3 separate regions of the Homo sapiens genome follow, and all the other regions are linked to region 3. The links are contacts of gene promoters, found by promoter capture Hi-C in blood cells and fetal thymus (Javierre and others, 2016). All regions are on one chromosome and are shown on one strand. The core of a region is centred on a gene start or on the middle of the fragment in contact, and the rest is flanking DNA. Distances in the headings are between cores, read along the strand shown.

Region 1 (4,117 bases), core at 1,201-3,700, 510 kb before region 3:
GAGAGCATAAGAATTTTCCAGTATTTGCTTCTTCATTGCTTGCTAAAACCATGCCAGCATAGCCTGGGGAAAGGTGGAAAGGGCTGGCATTGCCCCATATAAGGGAATTATATCCTCAAATCATTTGAGATAAGTAGGCCCCAAAGACAAATCCAAAACAGCTACTCCCTCATTCTCAGGAAATAAATTCTAGAGATTTCCTCAAATGGATAAATTTGAGAATCCGATTAGCTGCCACTTTTTCTTTATTTTTCTGATTATTTTAGGAAGACTCAAACAGATGTTAATACTTACTACCCTGTCTTTTTGTCAGTAAAGGCATGAACAGACAACAAAATAATCATGAACATACCAATCAGAAGAGTGCTCTCTGTAATATTAGCATTTATGATTTGTTTCGTTCATCTTATTTGGGGCATTCAAAGTGCTTTACAAATAACATAATGAGGGTTTTTTTTCCTTCCATGACTCCCAAGGTGATTCCTGGCACTCTCAAAAGGCACAAGTGATTAGTCAAGTCCTTGGGGCCCAGCAGCAGTAATGTGATGCATGTTGGTTAAACTGTGTTTCACACTCATGTAAATTGTGTGGGGGGCGGGTGGGGAATCTTCCACACTGTCCTTGAGAAGATTAGCAAGAATTATGAATTTAAAGATTCTTACATTTATAAAAATCCAAACAAAGAGAAATATTGAACAAATCATACTCCAGTCCTAAAATCAAAGTCTAAGGGTCTTAACCTGTGGTCCCAGGAATAGGGTTTCAGGTCACCTGTAAATCTTCTGAAATTGTATGCAAAATTTTGTGTGATTTTACTTTTTTTTTTGCAGAAATGGTGGACTGGTTTCTGAAGATTCTAAAAGCAATTCTTGACACCGAAAAGGTTAAGAACTGCTGTCATTAAAGAAAAAGAAAGGAAGGAAGAGGGAGAGAGGAAGGGAGGAAAGGAGAGAGGAAGGGAAGGAGGAAGATCAGTTGATCTTTGTATCTACATTACTTAGTTTATTACTGGCCTGCTATGTTGAAGTACACCCTTATACACAGAGAAAAGGGAAGGTAAATAAAGGGAATTAAGAAAAAGTTAACAATAAGGCCGAGCATGGTGGCTCACACCTGTAATCCCAGCACTTTGGGAGGCTGAAGTGGGAGGACTGCTTGAGATCAGGAGTTCAAGACCAACCTGAGCAACATGACGAAACCCCATCTCTACAAAAAATACAAAAATTAGCCGGGTGTGGTGGTGTGCACCTGTGGTCTCAGTTACCTGTGGGGGCTGAGGTGGGAGGATTGCTTGAGCCCAGGTGACAAAGTGAGACCTTGTCTAAAAAAAGAAAAGAAAAAAGAAAAAAAAAAAAACCAATAGTATGGTCATCTTGTTTCAAAAGCCTCTGAGTTTTCAAATGAGTTTAGATTGCATTTCCAGAGCCCATGGTTATGAAAAATGTAGACATTAATTAATTCAGTTTGTGAAAAATGTTTAGAATAAATGTGCATCAAAAACTTTTTTCTCTAGGATACATTTCTGATCATTATGTTGAATCCTTCAGAAGTAGCCTTCAATGAAATAGCTATTCCATTTACAGCAATATGATTTTGTATTAAAAGGGGCTATTAAAAATATAAAAGGGTGATATAGAGATTTCTACATATTCAGAATACTATTTCAGCATATAAAAACTCACATAATTCCAATACTAATTATAATAGAACGCTATTCTCACTTAAGACAATGTTTAAGTGAAACTCAGTTCTTCTCATTACACACCAAAGCCCCATGAAGTGTTTAGAATTAGGTTTCACCAATAAAGCCCCCATGTAATTAATCAGTACACATTTTCAATCAGGATATGTTTTTTGTTCTGTACATAGGGGAGTGAATGCTGAAGATTCCCCTATTCTTTTTCTGTGTTAGAAAGGAATAAACCAATCTCCCTCCATCCCTAATCTTTTTCATTCTTTAATTATTCTTAATCCCAAAGAGGCATGTCCATGTCAGATTTACGCTGTCTAGCATCCTTTCTTTAAGACTGCTCTCAAAATTTAACTCATCTTCAACTATATTTATTAATATGCAGAACAACTTCAGTCTCCAGTTTATCGATAACCTGCAAAGCGCAGTTAAGACATAATATAAAAATTAAGCAAGGAAATAAATGTTTTACAAATTGTTATAACTCTTAAATAAAAGTTATTTCTTTGAATGCCTACCTCAAATAAATGTTAGCATATATTGGATTTAAATTAGTACACCACGTGGTAAGGATTGATGGGTTTTCATCTCTTATAAAATTGTTTCCCCTTTCAGTGCCCCTTAAAGCATATAAAAGCGCATACTTACCCCATGTTGCCTGCGGTGGTTATATCATCCTCAGATCAAGGCTTATCTGGGTTCTGAATTAACTTAAAGGTTATAAAAAGAAGCAGTAGAGAGGCTTGACTTCCCCTGAAACGAGACCGTAGTATGCTAACCAGGCTTTTAAATGAGGAAAACTAGTGTCTCTTCTAATTATATAAGCTCCAGGTCAAATTCTAGCATCAACTAATCAAATAACTGAACTGCATTTAGTTTCAATGAGTAAAAAGGAAGAAACCCATTTAGGAGGAATATCTTTGGTATACTAGAAAATTGAAAAGTTGTACTTTGAAAAGTTATTAACATAGCAATACAAGTTAAATATTTTAAGAGTAAAATATATATCTTGCTGCCTTAAATAAATTGAAAAAAATTAGGGAAAATTTATTTTGCAGCAAAGCAGATACTTTTCTATATTTTCCAGAAGTTTTTGAATTTAAATTATATGTCCTGGTCCCTGAAAACATCTTCTCACCTTATCTTAACTTGTCCAGTATTTGTCTCTTCATGAATTTCCATATAATAATAATATTTAATTCTAAAGCCATGCCAGCTAATGTTTAGCAACATATACAAAAATGTCCAATTCTTAAAATGTGTCTTTGAAAACTTACAAATAGGGTCTTTCAAAATTAGCCATAAAGCTATTATTATGAGAAACTAACAAAAATGCCATTTTTATTTTAACATTTTAGAAGACATTGTAACCCAAATTTGTGCCAGTACAGCAAAAAATAAAAATATACATCTTTTGGCAATAACATATTGAGAAATACAAATATTCACAAGATTTTGAATAGAGAAATATGACAAAGAAGTTATCTATTGTGTACACTATTTTTTGTCAGTTTTAGAATATAGAGTTTCAGCAAAAACATTCAGGTCTTTATTGTAATTTTTTAAATGTAGTTGACATATACTGCTCTGGTAATTTTTAAATTATCTTATGTAAAAAGTAAAGAAGTTTTCTGGACATAGAATATATGACAACACACAGATCTACTTTTTAAGAAATTGAGACATAATTTACACATCATACATAAAATTTGTCCCTGTTAAATGAACAATTCAGTGGTTTTTAGTACATTTTCAAGACTGTGCAACCATCACCACTGTCTAATTCTAGAAACCTCATGCCTCCCAATTTCTTCCTCCCCTGGCAACCACTAATCTATTTTCTGTCCCTAAGGATTTGCCTATTCAGAGCATTTCACATAAATGGAATCATATAATATGTGGCCGTTTGTGACTGGTTCCTTTCACTTAGTACAATGTTTGTTTGTTTGTTGTTTTTGAGATGAAGTTTTGCTCTGTCACCCATCCTGGAGTGCAGTGGCATGATCTTGGTTCACTGCAACCTCTGCCTCCTGGGCTCAAGCAGTCCTCCCAAGTAGCTGGGACTATAGGCATGTGCCACCACACCTGGCTAATTTTTGTATTTTTTGTAGAGATGGGATTTTGCCATGCTGCCCAGCCTGGTCTCAAACTCCTGGCAAGCGATCCACACACCTTGGCATCCCAAAGTGCTGGGATTACAGGATGAGCCACCTGCCTGGCCAGTACAATGTTTCTGAAGTTCATCCATGTTGTAGTATCAGTACTTCATTTTTTATGGCTGAATAATATTCCATTATGTGGACATTTTGTTTACACATTCATTAGTTGATGGACATTTGGATTGTTTCCAGTTGGGGCTATTATACATGTCTTAGTCCATTTGAACTGCTATAAGAAAATACCTTAGACAGGGTAATTTTAAACAAC
Region 2 (3,807 bases), core at 765-3,264, 990 kb after region 3:
CGGGACCTAATTCCTTAAAGAACCGCTCTTCCTGCTGCATGAAGAATAGACTGAAGGGGGCAAGGGTAGAACCAGGAAGCCTTGATAAGAGGCTGTTAAAGTTATCAAGGTAAGAGATAATGGTGGCTTGGACCCAGTGCAGCAGCAATGGGGGTGGTAGAAGGTGATTGGATTCTGGATGTATTTGGAAGATAGACCTGGCCAGGCTACCTTCTGACTGGGTGTGGGATGTGAAATAGAAGAATCAAGAATGACTCCAAGGCCAGGCATGGTGGCTCACACCTATAATCCCAGGACTTTGGGAGGCCGAGGTGGGTGGATCACTTGAGGTCAGAAGTTCGATACCAGCCTCGCCAACATGGCAAAACCCTGTCTCTACGAAGCATACAAAAATTAGCCGGGCTTGGTGGCACACCCCTGTAATCCCAACTACTAGGGAGGCTGAGACAGGAGAATTGCTTGAATCCAGGGAGCGGAGGTTGCAGTGAGCCGTGATTGCACCACTGCACTCCAGCCTGAGCAACAGAGCGAGATTATGTCTCAATAAAAAGAATGACTCCTATGTTTTGGGCTACAGGAAGGTTGGAGCTACTGCCATCCAACAATGTCTGAAGCAGATTTGTGGGGAGGAGACCAGGAGTTCAGTGGGAACTTGCTGAATCTGACCTTCAAGTAGAACTGTTCAGTAGGCCGTTGTACATACAAGTCTAGAAAACATTTGAGAGCTCCAGGAGTTGCCAACATATACATGGTATTTAAAGACTTGAAGCTGGATGAGGTCAACAATGGACTGAGATGGAGAAATGAAGAGGAACAAGAACTGAGTCTTAGAGCCTTTCAAACTTGACAAGTCTGAAGATGAAGAGGAATCAGCAAAAGACACTGGAAAATAGCCACCAGGGTGTTGGAGGAAAATCCCATACAATTCTAATTTCAGTGGGCACACAGGACAGAACATTCTATTCTCGAATCTTCTTTGGTTCCCTGAACCAATGTAAACAAATTCCATACTTCTGAGTGCTTTTTTCTTTATACCTGATGCCCAACCATTTCAAGCCCTCTCCCTGGGTTTCCTGTATAGCTCTGGTAACAGCCAGAGCCACAGCCGCGACATCATGAAAAGCTCAGATGGGCAGCCTCTTTCCTGCTTTGATACATCCCATGTCCAGAGGAAGAACTGTGGATCTAAACAGAACCCACAGATGGTGGCCTACCTAACACTATCAAAACACAGAAAGAATGAATGCTCAAACAAGCTCCCCGTCAGGGTGTTGTGCTGCTTTCAGGAGCCCAGCAGCATGTAGAAGATGATGTGCAGAACTCGAGGAAGAGGATAGATAGACTTGAGGACCCAGAGCATCCTACAACTTGAGACATGTAGCCCACTACCTCTATGAGGATCCTGCCCTATATCCTTGTGGACCATGTGCTGAAGTTGCCCTTAGGAGGAAGCAATGTCTAGGAATTAACTTCTGAGGTTCTGAGAACACAGAAATATCTTCAAAGCTTCATCTTTACAATTGGATTTACATACTGACTCATGTTTGAAATTCTGCCATTATCAGAGTTTAATCACTTGATTTTAAAATGTTTCTAATCAACTCTGCTGTTCCTTATTCTCAGCTCAAAATGGGAACATAGAGTTTGATAGAGAGGAACCGGGAGAAGAGAGAAGGCATGGGATGATGAGGAGGGAGAAAGTCCCCTCCACTTCTGCCTCACCTCCCAGGAAGGAAACTAGTCCATAACAGGGAGGCAGGAAATGTAACCTCCCACCTGGAGTTTCCCCTGTTGACAGATGGGGGAGGAAGTCATGGGGATGAGTCAGAAACTCTTTGAGGGAGGCTTTGCTTGAGAGCTGCCTATGCAAATTGTCTTGGGCTTCCTTTTCTGCCACAGAGGAAACAGACTAAACCTAAAGGCTTTGCTGGTACACAGAAGCCAAAAGGAGATCAAGTGTGACTATTCCGAGGTCAGGTTTCTCGCTCGATGCCTGAAGGAGGTTCAACACCCCCTCCTTCCTCTGCCTACTCCTTCTGGCCTTCTGCCCTCCACCCAATTCTCTGTCTCACCCACAAATCCTACCCAATGCAGAAAAGTACTCCATACTGTGGTTCTTCATTTCTCTTTATTTCATAACCATATTTCTCATCTCTCTTCCCTGGGACTTCCTCAAATGTCCTTCTTTTGAAGGAGAGAGATGAGGAGGAGGCAAGAGGCATACCTAGGGAATTCCCTGGAGTTCAACTGAAACTTGTTGCAGTTCTGTTTCTAAGTCACCATTTCCCTGAGGGCAGCACTTTCAGAACCTACTGGCAACTGAAGTCTAGATCCCCACTCTGAAGCTCAGAGCCTCCCTTTGGCGGGCCTTGGGAAAGGAGGACAGGCACAGACAGCTTACACCCAGCATCTGGCTCCTGGCTGTGAGCTTGGATCTCTCCCTGCATCTGTTCCCTCGGTGCCTAATTCCAGCCCTGTGGGTAGATTTGGTCTTCAATAGCTGTCTGGTGCTTCAAGCTTTGTTTGTCTAGCTAGAAGCTTCAATTCTTGGTTTTTTGTTTTTTTTTTTTACTTCAAATAACCAGGTACTCCATAATACTTGGAGTGTTCATCTGAAAACTCAAAATGAGTCACTTCGATTTGAAACAGAGATACAGGATTAGCATAATAGAGTGAAAAGGCATGAGACTGGGTGCAAATCCCAAAACCTGACTTCTGGCCCAATCTTCATTATTGTATAAACTTGAACAAGTTGCTAAAGCTCTCTGTATCTGAGTTTGCCCCATCTCCTCCAGGATGAAGCAGGGCAGGCCTTGAATGAGGACAGGGGCCCTGAGAGCTGGAGCTGGGAGGTGTAGATGCTCATGGCAGCCAGTAGAGCCAAGAGGCAGAGGGCAAACCAGGTTCTTAGAGAACACAAAAGGCCCAGACCAAGGATACCAAATCTCTCACCACAATCAAGAGTAAAAGCCAGGAGATACACTGTTACATTTTATATAGGGTAGTTGGAGAAGGCCTGTGATAAAGGGACATTTGAGGCAAGTCCTGAAGCCAGAGAAATAGAAGCTGGATCAGTTCTTGAATATTTGTTTAATCACCAAGTATGTATTAAACCTCTGACACACACAAATATCTCCAAGTTGCTGGGAATACAATGATGAAAAACATAGACATAGTCCTTGCCCTCATGAAACCTACAATTTGATCATGAAAACAGGCTGCCCCCCACCCATAGTAAAACAATATTGTAATGACAAGTTGTGATAAGAAAAAAGAAAGAAATGAGTAGAGTGCTGAGATAGAAATATACAGGGAAGGACCTATTCTGGATAAGAGGATGTGAGGAACAGCCTCTGTGAGAAGGCCAAGAAAGAGACAGCAATGTAAATCGGGACTAAAGGAGAATCCCATGTGGAGGATAAGGATGTCCAGAAGCCTCCCTATGGCAGGGGACTGCTTAGTAAGTTCAAGGAACAAAAGAGGGCAATGGCATTTTAGGCCAGAGAGGGAGGGAAAGAGTGGTAGAATGTTGAGTTTCTGGGCCAGGCACGGTGGCTCACGCCTAGAATCCCAGCACTCTGGGAGGCTGAAGCAGGTGGATCACCTGAGGTCAGGAGTTTGAGACCAGCCTGCCCAACATGGTGAAACCCTGTCTCTACAAAAAATACAAAAAAAAAAATTAGCCCGGCATGATGTTGGGCGCCTGTAATCCCAGCTATTCAGGAGGCTGAGACAGGAGAATTGCTTGAACCCAGGTGGTGGAGGTTGAAGTGAGCCGAGATTGCACCACTGCACTCCAGCCTGGGC
Region 3 (4,061 bases), core at 1,307-3,806:
ATTAATTAATTCTTTTTTTTTTTGAGCTGGTGGTGTTAAGCAGCAGTCTTTTTTGAATGGTATTGCTCCTTGCGGAGTAGGGCTAACTCACAGGCAGTGTACCCAGGGTCAGCCTATTTTTTTTTTTTTTTGAGATGGAGTCTCACGCTGTCATCCAGGCTGGAGTGCAATGGCACGATCTCAGCTCACGGCAACCTCCACCTCCCAGGTTCAAGTGATTCTCCCACCTCAGCCTCCCGAGTAGCTGGGATTACAGGCACCCGCCATCATGCCAAGTTAATTTTGGTATTTTTGTGGAGATGGGGTTTCACCATGTTGGCCAGGCTAGTCTTGAACTGCTGACCTCAGGTGATCGCCCCACCTCGGCCTCCCAAAGTGCTGGGATTACAGGCATGAGCCACCACACCCAGCCTTTTTTTTTTTTTTTTAAATAAGCGTTTGACCTCTCTTGATTCAGGCATAGTAACCACAGATGGGGGAGAGAGTGGGTTTGGGAGCCAAGATAGGCAGAACACCAAAAAGAGAAGAACATAGGCAAGGAAAAAAAAAAGAAAAGAAAAGAGAAAAGCAAAGCAAAACACGAAACACATGGGGTAGCAGCCTAGATTAGTAGATAGAATTGAAGTCCTTAAAATCGAAGGCACAGTGAGGGAAACCATAAGGTCTTTTATTACATGTAAGATATTCAATATCTTCCAAAGGACTGCCTATACTAAGCATAGAGGGTGATTTGGCTTAGGTGAACACTGCACTTTGGTAAGGATTCAGGTAGCTTTTTGTTGTCACTGACTGTATCAACCTTAATTTAGCAAATGGCCTATGCTGTGCTGTTTGTAAATGGTTTCTTTTTTCTATGTGCCTAAGCAAATGTTTTTTAGTGAGTAAATGACAGTAAATAAATCTTTGTAGAACAATCCTCGTGAAGATTTTTTTGCCCTTCTTCTCCTCCTCCTCCTCCTTCTTCTGCTTCTGCTTCTTCTTTTTCTTCCTTTTCAATACTACGTTTTTCAGGCCAATGATAAAACAGAAAATGTCTTGACAAAGTGAGCTCTCCAAATCATATATCACAAGGACGTAAGAGGAATATCACTTAACAAGTTGATAAAGATCCTGCCATCAATATGAACGAGGGGGAAGGGTAACTGTACTTTAGATTGTGGAGGTGGTTCAAGTCCCAGAACTAGAATCTTAGTAACTCAAAGAATATTGCCAAGAACACGTATATAGTTATTCTCCTAGATTTATGTGACAATGATGACAAACTCCATATTCTGTTGAAATATATTTGGATGGGCCGGGCGCAGTGGCTCACGCCTGTAATCCCAGCACTTTGGGAGGCTGAGGCGGGTGGATCACGAGGTCAGTAGCTCAAGACCAGCCTGGCCAAGATGGTGAAATCCCGTGTCTATAAAAATACAAAAATTAGCAGGGTGTGGTGGCGGGGGACTGTAATCCCAGCTACTCCGGAGGCTGAGGCAGAGAATTGCTTGAACCCGGGAGGCGTGAGCCACCATGCCCTACCTAGAATGGTATTTTGAAAGCTTTAATAACACCAGTGCTTTTCTAGAGATTGTGCATGCTGTGAATTTTAGACTTATGAAAAGACCTGGACAAAACAGCTGTTTGTACACCCGGACATCTGTTTTTACTGGAGAAGAGGAATTTCTAATGCAGCTGGCAGTATGGTAAAAATCCAAAGGGATCATGTTTCACAGACGCCTCCACGGGCTGACTTGTAATTTAAAAAGTGACCTGAACTTTCTACTGGATGTCACTGGATCCCCAGAAGAAGGTTCATCACAATTAGGTAAGAACCTGCCACGATTCATTTTCCGATTAGAGTGCTTTCTGGCATGCCTCTGCAAGGTGCTAGGAGCACAGGGCCAGGGTATACACAGTTGAGAAGATGGGGGAAGGTCTCATAAGTAGATGGGGAGCGAATGCAAACAAACCTTAGGATGGTGGGGGGGAGGGGAAGCAACAGTAGGGACTTGGGTGAGGAAAGAAAAGATCAAGAGGAAAAGCAGGGCACTGGCAACAACTTGGGGGGTGGATGGGGAGAGAGGAGGGGAATGGCTGTGATGAGGAGGGGGCGATGAAAAGGAGAGAAGGGGTGCGAAAGCCACCTCACGTGCAGGACGCACGAATCAACGATTAGAGATGTAAAGCGAATTGGGAGGGAGGGACTTAGTTCTCTGGAGCTCCCTTCTGCGTTTGCAGAGCCTGGCCCAGCGCTAAGGGGGTGTGGTGCTGAGCTCAGGGAGGTGGGGGTGTGAGACGGCGGCGGCAGGGACACCCCCGCCCCAGTCCAACCAGAAACTTGGAGCCGGGGAGACGGATCTGCAGGCGGGCAGGGCGAGGGCGGAGCGAGCGAGCGATGGGCGGGGCGGGGGCGGAGGGAGGGCGAGGAGATACAGGCGGAGGGCGAGGAGATACAGGCGGAGGGCGAGGAGATACAGGCGGAGAGCGGCGCTAGGACCCGCCGGCCACCCCGCCGGCTCCCGGGAGGTTGATAAAGCGGCGGCGGCGTTTGACGTCAGTGGGGAGTTAATTTTAAATCGGTACAAGATGGCGGAGGGGGACGAGGCAGCGCGAGGGCAGCAACCGCACCAGGGGCTGTGGCGCCGGCGACGGACCAGCGACCCAAGCGCCGCGGTTAACCACGTCTCGTCCACGACCTCCCTAGGTACGGGCCAGCGAGGCAGAGGCCGCGGGGCCCTGATGGGGAGAGACGCTCGCTGCTCGGGCTCGCGGGCACCGGCCGCAGGCGGCGGGGTCGGAGTCCGCGGCTGGTTCAGGTCTCCTCCCGCCGCCGCGCCTGCCCGCCGGGCCTAGCCTCAGCCGCGCCCCGCGCTCCCGCAGCGCGCGGCCTGAAAGGGCGGCTCGTGGGCCGCGGCTCCAGTAGCTGCTGGGAGAACCAGTGGCGCGCGCGTCTGCGACCGGCCCGGCCCCCTGCCCGCCAGCCCGCCGCGTGGCTGCCGCCGTGTCCGCCCCGACCTTAGGGGGCGGCCTTGAGCCGTGGCCGCCTGCCCGGGGCGCGGGGAGGTCGGCTGCGGCTCCGCTCCGTCCGGCGAGCTCCGGACGCGGCGGGGCGACCCGTTAGCTGGTGGGCGTTCGCTGTCCCTTACGCGGACAGGGAGGAAGGGGTGGCCAGGGCATGATGGGCCCCGCGGAGGAGGAGGTCGCGCGGGGAGCAGACACCTTGCTGCCGGGTCCGAAAGCTCCTTAGACACCCTTCCTGGAGGGAACCGCAGTCCGCAGGCCAGGGCTCTGTCCCCGGGCTCGCGTTTCGGGGCTCCTCGGCTCCCGAACCCATTCGCGCGGGTTGTGCGTGGCTAGGGTGCAAGTCTAGATTTTCGTGTCAAACTGGGGTTATGAGCCGTTTACGAGTCACTTGGACGATAGTAAGGCCTGATCACTCTGAAAGTGTCTGTAGTGTGAAGTCACCTGATCCTTGGCTCCCTGGTTTTGCTGAATGTGAGCTCCTACTGTACGTGTACCAGGAGCGCCCCTGCCCCCTCGAAGACGCAGTTGCGTTGGCAGCGCAGTGTATCCCTCTCACTCATAACACCCCTATTTATAGGAGTTTAGCGTTTGATCTCTCACTGTGGTGCGAATTGATCGCATGAAATCCTGATTGAAAATTTTGATGGTACTTAAGAAAGGCATAAAGTTTTTTCAAAGGCTTATAAATAGTAAAAGCCTACGATTTGGTAAGTACGGCCAAGATAAGAGTTTATTATTAAATACAGATACGAGCTCGTGTCTTAAGATTTCTTTTTTTACGGTGTGTAAAGGTTTTGCTGGATAAAATGTAAAGCATTTTGGTATGATGTTAACCACAAGGACTCACTTTAATAGGAAAGTTTATTTGAAATATACTTCATCATTCCTGGTAGTTCTTGGCGCATGTCAGAGGTGATGACAGACTGGAGTTTTGCTAAGGGAAGAAGAAAAGGAAATAAAGCTTATTTTATTATTGTCTGCCAACCAAAACGCTTGACTGTTTGTACAGTGGTAGCACTCTGTAGAATAAAAAACTACCAAAGAAGCAGCTTCGC

Evidence for each region. Contacts are between HindIII fragments. The CHiCAGO score rates a contact against its expected background, and 5 or more counts as called.
Region 1: a contact is called between the fragment with the promoter of ARHGEF33 here and the fragment with the promoter of ATL2 in region 3, in 7 of 17 cell types (total B cells, M2 macrophages, activated CD4 T cells and 4 more). The highest score is 11.9, in total B cells.
Region 2: a contact is called between a fragment that was not itself captured here and the fragment with the promoter of ATL2 in region 3, in 1 of 17 cell types (monocytes). The highest score is 5.1, in monocytes.

The regions. Positions count from the first base shown.
Region 1 is chr2:38,888,208-38,892,324 of GRCh38, reverse strand. ARHGEF33 (Rho guanine nucleotide exchange factor 33) reads right to left here and starts at 2,450. Exons shown (of 18, transcript NM_001145451.5): 1 at 2,339-2,450. The HindIII fragment of the contact is 7,511 bases long and covers 1-4,117 here.
Region 2 is chr2:37,388,640-37,392,446 of GRCh38, reverse strand. No RefSeq gene overlaps it. Among named protein-coding and RNA genes, the nearest start is that of QPCT, 46 kb to the right of the region's middle. RefSeq lists an enhancer at 2,154-2,343. The HindIII fragment of the contact is 1,011 bases long and covers 1,509-2,519 here.
Region 3 is chr2:38,375,768-38,379,828 of GRCh38, reverse strand. ATL2 (atlastin GTPase 2) reads left to right here and starts at 2,556. Exons shown (of 13, transcript NM_001135673.4): 1 at 2,556-2,686. The coding sequence starts at 2,569. RefSeq lists silencers at 2,137-2,186, 2,257-2,416, 2,637-3,136 and enhancers at 2,387-2,636, 2,463-2,962, 2,963-3,464. The HindIII fragment of the contact is 2,426 bases long and covers 1,544-3,969 here.